Regions from separate parts of the Homo sapiens genome. Here regions 2 and 3 are each linked to region 1. The links are contacts of gene promoters, found by promoter capture Hi-C in human tissues and cell types (Jung and others, 2019). All regions are on one chromosome and are shown on one strand. Each heading gives the region's core, a stretch centred on a gene start or on the middle of the fragment in contact. The rest is flanking DNA. Distances are from core to core; before and after follow the strand shown.

Region 1 (2,971 bases), core at 5-2,504:
CATATTGCAAATCAAAAAAACTAGAATGCCGTTTTGCTGGGGCCTCCTTAGTTTCTCTTCTATTTCATTCTTTCCTTTCCTTTTATTCCACATTATTTTACATTTTCCCATAAGTCATCCATAATTCAATCTCAGTCTAGAAGAGTAAATTCGATTACTCGGCGGCTAAACATCGTGTGCCTTCTCAGAAACAAGAGAACTTGTAAAACAAAAACAAAAACAACTTAAAAAAACAAAAACAACCAACAACCACCAAAAAAACAAAGGCATGAAAAGTTGGAACCTATCGGGAGGCTCTTGGAAACTTGGGCAGCTTCCTTTCTCTGTTCAGGATTTAGATTTCTATCTCACGTTACTTTGCGAACAGCTTCGCCTGTGAATCTCCCCCTACACCTCTGGGCACCGGTGCCAATTCCTTCCCTTCCCTTCCCCAGTAGCCCCACACAGTATAGAGGAGCTTATTTTCTAAGACTGCACCGGTGTCAGAGGTGACGTGAGAGTTTCTAACCGAATGGCGTTTTAGAAATAGGAACGGGAAACACAGAAACGGCTGAGGAGCGACCCCGTGGAGCAGACAGGCACAGCCCGGGAGCGGCGGACGCCAGCGCCGGCGCCGCAGGGAGCGCGTGCGGGGCTCCGCGGGGCCGCCTCCCGCGACTTCAGCAGGGGCCGCGGCCGCGCTCCCGGGCCGGTGGGCTGAGGCAGGCAGAGGCCGCCATATTCCTGTCTCACCACGCCCGGCCGGACGGCAGCCGCAGGTCGGCTGCGGCCCTGGCACGCAACGGCGGCCGCCGGCTCGGGCTGCGCGTCGGCGGCCGGGTCTGGCCCCGACTTCGGCCGGGGGCGGCCGTGACTGCTGCGCCCGCGGACTCTGCCGAGGGTGCGGGAGCAGTAGGCGTCCGCAGAGCCCGCGGGGGCCGGCCCAGCCCGGGAGCCGCGCGGGCGAGGCGAGAGCCGCACTGGGAGGCGCGCCGCGGCGGCCGCGAGCCCAGGAAAGCCTTCCAGGAGGGGCCGGGCGGCACCGCCTCCCGGCTCCCTCCTCCCGCGCCCATCCCCTCCGCCTCTTCCTCCTCCTCCTTTCGCCGCCGCCTCCTCCCTCCCGGATCTGTGCTCCAGTTCAGAGAAAGAAGAAAATGTGTGTGTGTGGCGAGGGGGAGGGCTCGCACTGAGCAGCCGCTCCGCGCCTGGCAATCGGGGCAGGGGGTGGGCGTCTGGCGGGGGCGGGGGCGGAGGCGGAGGCGGAGGAGCGCGCGGTTGCCGGGCGGGACGGGAACCGGGTCTGCGCGCGAGCCGGGCGGTGGGCGCGGACAGGGCCGAGGGCGCCCGGGAGCCGTGTCAGGCGGCGGCGAGGAGCGGGCGCGCCGGGCGCGGGGAGCCGTCGGCGGCCGCTCGCTGCGGGGACACCCCGGTGAATGAGCTCTCGCCGCCAGGCGCACGGCGTAGGGGAGCCTCGCAGGCGGCGGCGGCGGCGGCGGCTCGGGGGGCGAGGCGGGCCGCCTGTTCCCGGGGAAGGAGGCGCGGGCGTCTGAGCGAGGCCGGGCGCGGCGGCCTTCTCTCACGCGCCCCCCGAGCCAGCGCCCGCCTCCCGCGCCCGCCTCTCTTCTCCCGTCGGCCCAGACTATCCGCTCCCACCGCGCCCCCGGCCCACCTGGTGGCCCCGGCCCTGGCCGCCGCCCCCGCGGCGGTTCCCGGAGCTCGTCCCGGACGCGCGCCCGGGCGGCGGGGGCTCGGCGGCCACCGCTGCCTCGGGGGAGCGAGGGCGGGAGGGTGTGTGTGCGCGCTGTGAGCAGGGGGTGCCGGCGGGGCTGCAGCGGAGGCACTTTGGAAGAATGACTCTGGAGTCCATCATGGCGTGCTGCCTGAGCGAGGAGGCCAAGGAAGCCCGGCGGATCAACGACGAGATCGAGCGGCAGCTCCGCAGGGACAAGCGGGACGCCCGCCGGGAGCTCAAGCTGCTGCTGCTCGGTGAGTACCGTCCGGGGCCCCGCCGGGCCTCTGCGCCCCCAGCCCACCATCCTTGGCCCTGCGGGGCAGCTGCCTTCGGCGCCCCCGCCCCCCGGCGCCCGCGGTTCGCCCCTACCCTCCCGGGCGCGCCCCCGGCCACTGCCTTCACCCGCGCGGGCGCGCGGGCGCGTTACACACAGACACACACACACACACACACACACACACACACAGCGACACACACACGCAGCACAGGGGTCGGGGCTGCCCTGCCCGGTGCCTTGGCTTGTTCCTTTTCGTGTCCCTGAGGGCTGTACCTTATCTGCTGTGCATCTGCTAAATGGCAGATCACTCCGACCAGAGGCGCGGGGGTGGAAAGGTGGGCAGAGGGGTTGAACTTCCAGTGTCGTGGCCGCGGCACCCCATGGGGTGGTGGCGTGGGGAGCCGTGTGTGTGGCCCAGCGGGTGGCGAGCGGAGCCGGGGCACGTTGGGGGATGGCCTGCGGTGGAGTGGCCGGTGTGCATCCATTATCAGTGCCCTATGGGGTCAGGAGGGAATGGGGGAACGGTGGGCAGACTCGCAGCTGGATTCCCGGAGCACTCATGGTGAGGAAGCCAAGTGGTTGGCCCTCCAAGGAAAGGGTCTGTGTACTGGGGGCGAGGCGGGAGGGCAAGCCCAAATGTGTCACACAAGTGCTGTTCTCTAGCCACCAGACCATCGAAAGGAGGGAGCCTAGAAGAGTTGGCCAGTGGATGGTGACAGGCGTTATTCTCGTCTGCACCATTCCTTCTAGATAAAGATGAGGGTAGGGGAGCGTTGTGCTGTGTGGTTGTTGACAGCGACCGGTATCTTTTGTTTAATGAGGCAACCTAGATGTAGGCCTCAGTTCACAATAGTTACTACCGAAAACCAGTGCAGTCTCTCAGTTACTCTCTTGGCAACAAATAGAAACCTTTTGTTTAAAACAGATAGCATTTTAATGTCTTTGGAATCTGGGCGAGAAGGAAAAACGGGAAGCATACAGGA
Region 2 (2,893 bases), core at 46-2,545, 370 kb after region 1:
TGGAATTTTACATTTCTCAGTGTAATAATAATATCGTGTGTTTATAAGAGAATGCACTTATTTTAGGCAGTGTTGGTTGAATTATTTAGAGGAGAAGAGCCGTGATGTTTGCAACTTACTTTCAAATCATTTAGTGAATTCATATTTTCAGAGAGTAAAAAGATAAAGCAGATATGGGGGAAAGTTAACAACTGGTGAATCTAGGTAAAGAGTTTACAACTGTTCATTATATCATTATTGCAAATTATCCGTATGTTTGAAAAACCTCCAAATAAAAAGTAGGGAAAACCTTCATCATAGAGTTACAGCACATAGAGCTGAGAAACTGATTTTTTCTTTATTTTTTTAGAAGTATTTTGAGAAATGACCGTTACCGAGGAAGAGTGTTACACACGAGCATACTCATTAATAAAATGTCTCTAATAGAGAAAATACTCTCTATTGCAGAGAGCTCCCCTTCTCCATGATCCCTAAGCCTGTGGGGCACATCACAGCACTATTAGGCTGTGTCCTTTTAAGTGTATTGATAGACCCATCTCCCTGACAGGACTGGAAGTTCCATCAGAAAAGAGTTCAAGTCCTACCCATCTCTCTGACCCCAGCTGCAGATTCTAATAAACATTTGTGAAAGATGGAAAGAAGGTATGATTGATAGACAGCAGTTGCCAGGGTAGTTTGGAAGACAGCCTTAAAACCAAACTCAGTATTTGAAACCAGAAATAATCCTGGACTTGGTTGCATGCCACCGGAGAAGAGCTTGTGCCCGCCTGGCCGGCTCAGCTGCTTTTATGCTCAGTGGGGTCATTAAACTTGTCAGACTTGTTTGCACTGGCAAGCAGGTCATTGGAGCCAGTTCCTCATAAGGCACTTAGCGACTTCAGGGTCCCATTGCAGTGCATTACACACAAAATGAGCAAAAAGCCAAAGAAAATAAAGACAGTGGCCAGAGGGAAACTACGTCACTCTTTTAAATAATCATCCAAACAGAAACAAAAATCACTGACACTGAAAAGCCATCTTTTAGTTTAATTATGTAATCATTCACCAAGATCTCTTTGCTCTCCAAATTTTACCAAGCAAGCACTAGAATGTTCGACCTTATTAGCAGGATCCTTATTTCTTCTATTTTTTTCAGATTCAACTAAATAATCTTGATACAGGTACAGGTTTTTCTGACAAGTTGGCTCTCAATAATCAACTGATGCCATATCAAAGAGAGACAGCTTATAAAAAGAACAGGTTCAGGAGAACTTTAACATAAAGATTCTTCTATGTCCTCACAAAATTTGGTAAGTTTGCTGCATCTAAATAGTTTATGAATACAAGCATTTTTAAAAAAAAAAACCTATTTGACCACAGATCCTTAAGTAGTAACTGAAGACACAATCAAGATCATCTGGGAAGGAAAGACGATTTGGCAGAATGTCAGACCAAAACAGGATCCCCACGTTGCTGAAAAGACCCATTTGCTCATTTATATTAAGTGTAACTACTGCCTGGTCCATGTTCAGCTTATTCTTGTGACAAACTAGGAAGAATCTGATGGCCATTTACCATTATCCTTTCTTGCAGAAGTTGATAAAGTAGGTATTGAAATATCAGGGCACTGTAAAATAATCATAACTAGACCTCAAGGTATTATATTTTTCCTATCACTAACACTTACTTCTTCATTTCTCATAGGTGAGGTTCATTAGCCATGGTTTTTATGTTTTTTTTTTTTTTTGAGATGGAGTCTCCCTCTGTTGCTCAGGCTGGAGAGTGCAATGGCACAATCTCGGCTCACTGCAGCCTCCACCTCTGGTGTTCAAGCGATTCTCCTGCCTCAGCCTCCTGAGTACCTGGGATTACAGGCACCCACCACCATGCCTGGCTAATTTTGTATTTTTAATAGAGACGGGGTTTCACCATGTTGGCCAGGCTGGTCTCGAACTCCTGACCTCAGGTGATCCACCCGCCTTGGCCTCCCAAAATGCTGGGATTACAAGCGTGAGCCACATGCCTAGCCTAAGCCATGATTCTTTTGATTGCAAGTGACAGAAACTCAATCTACACTGGCTTAAACAAACAAGGAAATTTCTTGGCTCAGTTAACTGGGAATATGGGGTTCATATCAGGGGACCAAATCAGGACATGACTGTCTTCCTCACTCTGCTTCTCTTTGCTTGTATCTTTGCTGGTGCCACACTCAGGTAGAACTGTTCCATGTATTTGCAAAGATGACCATGAGCAGCCCCAGGTTATTTTATATTTTAAACTAGACATCCTAAAGAAAGGAGGACACAGGCTGGGCGCGGTGGCTCACGCCTGTAATCCCAGCACTTTGGGAGGCCGAGGCAGGTAATCACCTGAGGTCGGGAGTTCGAGACCACCTGACCAACATGGAGAAACCCCATCTCTATTAAAAATACAAGTTAGCCGGGCATGGTGGTGCATGCCTGTAATCCCAGCTACTCGGGAGGCTGAGGCAGGAGAATCACTTGAACCGGGAGGCACACAGGCAGAGTGTTATCTGCTGATGAGGGCATCAGCATCACCTGGGAATTTCTAGAAATGCAAAACTTTGGGCCCTACCTAGGGTAACCAAACATCTGTGCTTGCCAGGGGGGCTGGGCTTCTGATGCTAAAACTGAAAAAATCCTAGGTAAACTGAGATTTGTTGGTCACCACGGGCTGCAGACCTGCTGACTCAGAATCTCTGGAGTCCAGCTCAGAAATCCGTGCTTTGACCAGCTTTTCAGGTGATTCTCAGACATCATTTCCGAGTTCTTGTTTTAGAGGAGAACACAGTTCAAGCAAAGGCTTGGAGCAAGGAGAGTTGTCTTAAACCGCTCAGCCTTGCTCCTCATTCTCGACAGCTGCCTCCTGGTTTCCTGTTGCAGTGGGAAACAAA
Region 3 (2,783 bases), core at 226-2,725, 400 kb after region 1:
CCTGAGGCTTCTGTTCTGTTCCATTGATCTATATATCTGTTTTGGTACCAGTACCATGCTGTTTTGGTTACTGTAGCCTTGTAGTATAGTTTGAAGTCAGGTAGTATGCTGCCTCCAGCTTTGTTCTTTTTGCTTAGGATTGTATTGGCTATATGGGCTCTTTTTTGCTTCCATGTGAAATTTAAAGTAGTTTTTTCTAATTCTGTGAAGAAAGTCAATGGTAGCTTGATGGGGATAGCATTGAATCTATAAATTACTTTGAGCAGTATGACCATTTTCACATTATTGGTTCTATCCGTGAGCATGAAATGTCCTTCCATTTGTTTGTGTCCTCTCTTATTTCCTTGAGCAGTGGTTTGTAGTTCTCTTGAAGAGGTCCTTCACATCCCTTAAAAGTTGGATTCCTAGGTATTTTATTCTCTTTGTAGCAATTGTGAATGGGAGTTCACTCATGATTTGGTTTTCTGTGTGTCTATTATTGGTATATAGGAATGCTTGTGATTTTTGCACATTGATTTTGTATCCTGAGACTTTGCTGAAGTTGCTTATCAGCTTAAGGAGATTTTGGGCTGAGGCACTGGGGTTTTCTAAATATAAAATCATGTCATCTGCAAACAGGGCCAATTTGACTTCCTGTCTTCCTATTTGAATACCCTTTTTTTCTTTCTCTTGCCTGATTGCTCTGGCTAGATCTTCCAATACTATGTTGAATAGGGGTGGTGAGAGAGGGTATCCTTGTCTTGGCCAGTTTTCAAAAGGAATGCTTCCAGCTTTTGCCCATTCAGTATGATATTGGCTGTGGGTTTGTCATAAATAGCTCTTATTATTTTGAGATACGTTCCATCAATACCTAGTTTATTGAGAGTTTTTAGCATGAATGGGTGTTGAGTTTTATTGAAGGCCTTTTCTGCATCTATTGAGATAATCGTGGTTTTTGGGCGTTGGTTCTGTTTACGTGATGGATTACATTTATTAATTTGCGTATGTTGAACCAGCCTGGCATCCCAGGGATGAAGCTGACTTGATTGTGGTGGATAAGCTTTTTGATGTGCTGCTGGATTCAGTTTGCCAGTATTTTATTGAGGATTTTCGCATTGATGTTCATCAGGTGCCTGAATTTCAGGTGGCCTGAAATTTTCTTTTTTTGTTGTGTCTCTGCCAGGTTTTGGTATCAGGATAATGCTGGCCACCTAAAACGAGGTAGGGAAGAGTCCCTCTTTTTCTGTTGTTTGGAATAGTTTCAGAAGGAATGGTACCAGCTCCTTTTTGTACCTCTGGTAGAATTTGGCTGTGAATCCATCTGTTCCTGGCCTTTTTTTGGTTCATAGGCTATTAATTACTGCCTCAATTTCAGAACCTGTTATTAGTCTATTCAGGGATTCACCTTCTTCCTGGTTTAGTCTTGGGAGGGTGTATGTGTCCAGGAATTTATGAATTTCTTCTAGATTTTCTAGTTTATTTATGTAAAGGTGTTTATAGTATTCTCTGATGGTAGTTTGTATTTCTGTGGGATCAGTAGTGATATCCTCTTTATCATTTTTGTGTGTCTATTTGAGTCTTCTCTCTTTTCTTCTTTATTTGTCTTGTTAGTGGTCTATCTATTTTGTTAATCTTTTCAGAAAACCAGCTCCTGCGTTCATTGATTTTTTAAAGGGTTGTTCGTGTCTCTATCTTCTTCAGTTCTGCTCTGATCTTAGCTGTTTCTTGTCTTCTGCTAGCTTTTCAGTTTGTTAGCTCTTGCTTCTCTAGTTCTTTTCATTGTGATGTTAGGGTGTTGATTTTAGATCTTTCCCACTTTCTCCTGTGGGCATTTAGTGCTATAAATTTACTTCTAAACACTGCTTTAGCTGTATCCCAGAGATTCTGGTACATTGTGTGTACTCATTGCTTTCAAATAACTTATTTATTTCTGCTTTAATTTCATTATTTACCTAGTAGTCATTCAGGAGCAGGTTGTTCAGTTTCCTTGCAGTTTTATGATTTTGAGTGAGTTTCTTAATCCTGAGTTCTAATTTGATTGCACTGTGGTCTGAGAGACTGTTTGTTATTATTTCAGTTCTTTTGCATTTGCTGAGGAGGTGTTTTACTTCCAATGATGCGGTCAATTTTAAACTAAGTGCAATGTGGTGCCGAGAAGAATGTATATTCTGTTGATTTGGGGTGGAGAGTTCTGTAGATGTCTATTAGGTCCGCTTTGTCCAGGGCTGAGTTCAAGTCCTGAATATCCTTGTTAATTTTCTGTCTCATTGATCTAATATTGACAATGGGGTGTTAAAGTCTCCCACTATTATTGTGTGGGAGTCTAAGTCTCTTTGTAGGTCTCTAAGAACTTGCTTTGTGAATCTGGGTGCTCCTCTATTGGGTGCATATATATTTAGGATAGTTAGCTCTTCTTTTTGCATTGATCCCTTTACCATTATGTAATGCCCTTATTTGTCTCTTTTGATCTTCGTTGATTTAAAGTCTGTTTTATCAGAGACTAGGATTGCAAACCCTGCTTCTTTTTTTTTTTCTTTCCATTTGCTTGGTAAATATTCCTCCATCCCTTTATTTTGAGCCTATGTGTGTCTTTGCACATGAGATGGGTCTCCTGAATACAGCACACCAAGGGGTCTTGGCTCTTTATCCAATTGGTCAGTCTGTGTCTTTTAATTGGGGCATTTAGCCCATTTACATTTAAGGTTAATATTGTTATGTGTGAATTTTATCCTGTCATTATGATGCTAGCTGGTTATTTTGCACATTAGTTGATTCAGTTTCTTAATAGTGTCGTTATTCTTTAC

What was found. The method cuts DNA at HindIII sites, captures the fragments that hold promoters and counts their contacts. A contact is called where the count stands out against the background at its distance.
Region 2: a fragment that was not itself captured here is called in contact with the fragment with the promoter of GNAQ in region 1 in 1 of the 25 tissues and cell types used here (dorsolateral prefrontal cortex).
Region 3: a fragment that was not itself captured here is called in contact with the fragment with the promoter of GNAQ in region 1 in 1 of the 25 tissues and cell types used here (mesenchymal stem cells).

What each region holds. Positions count from the first base shown.
Region 1 is chr9:78,030,094-78,033,064 of GRCh38, reverse strand. It overlaps GNAQ (G protein subunit alpha q), which reads left to right and starts at 1,254. Exons shown (of 7, transcript NM_002072.5): 1 at 1,254-1,965. The coding sequence starts at 1,830. RefSeq lists an enhancer at 1,171-2,065. The HindIII fragment of the contact is 13,439 bases long and covers 1-2,971 here.
Region 2 is chr9:77,661,888-77,664,780 of GRCh38, reverse strand. No RefSeq gene overlaps it. Among named protein-coding and RNA genes, the nearest start is that of GNA14, 15 kb to the right of the region's middle. The HindIII fragment of the contact is 7,591 bases long and covers 1-2,893 here.
Region 3 is chr9:77,625,791-77,628,573 of GRCh38, reverse strand. All of the region lies in intron 1 of GNA14 (G protein subunit alpha 14), which reads left to right. Among named protein-coding and RNA genes, the nearest start is that of GNA14, 21 kb to the left of the region's middle. The HindIII fragment of the contact is 5,566 bases long and covers 1-2,783 here.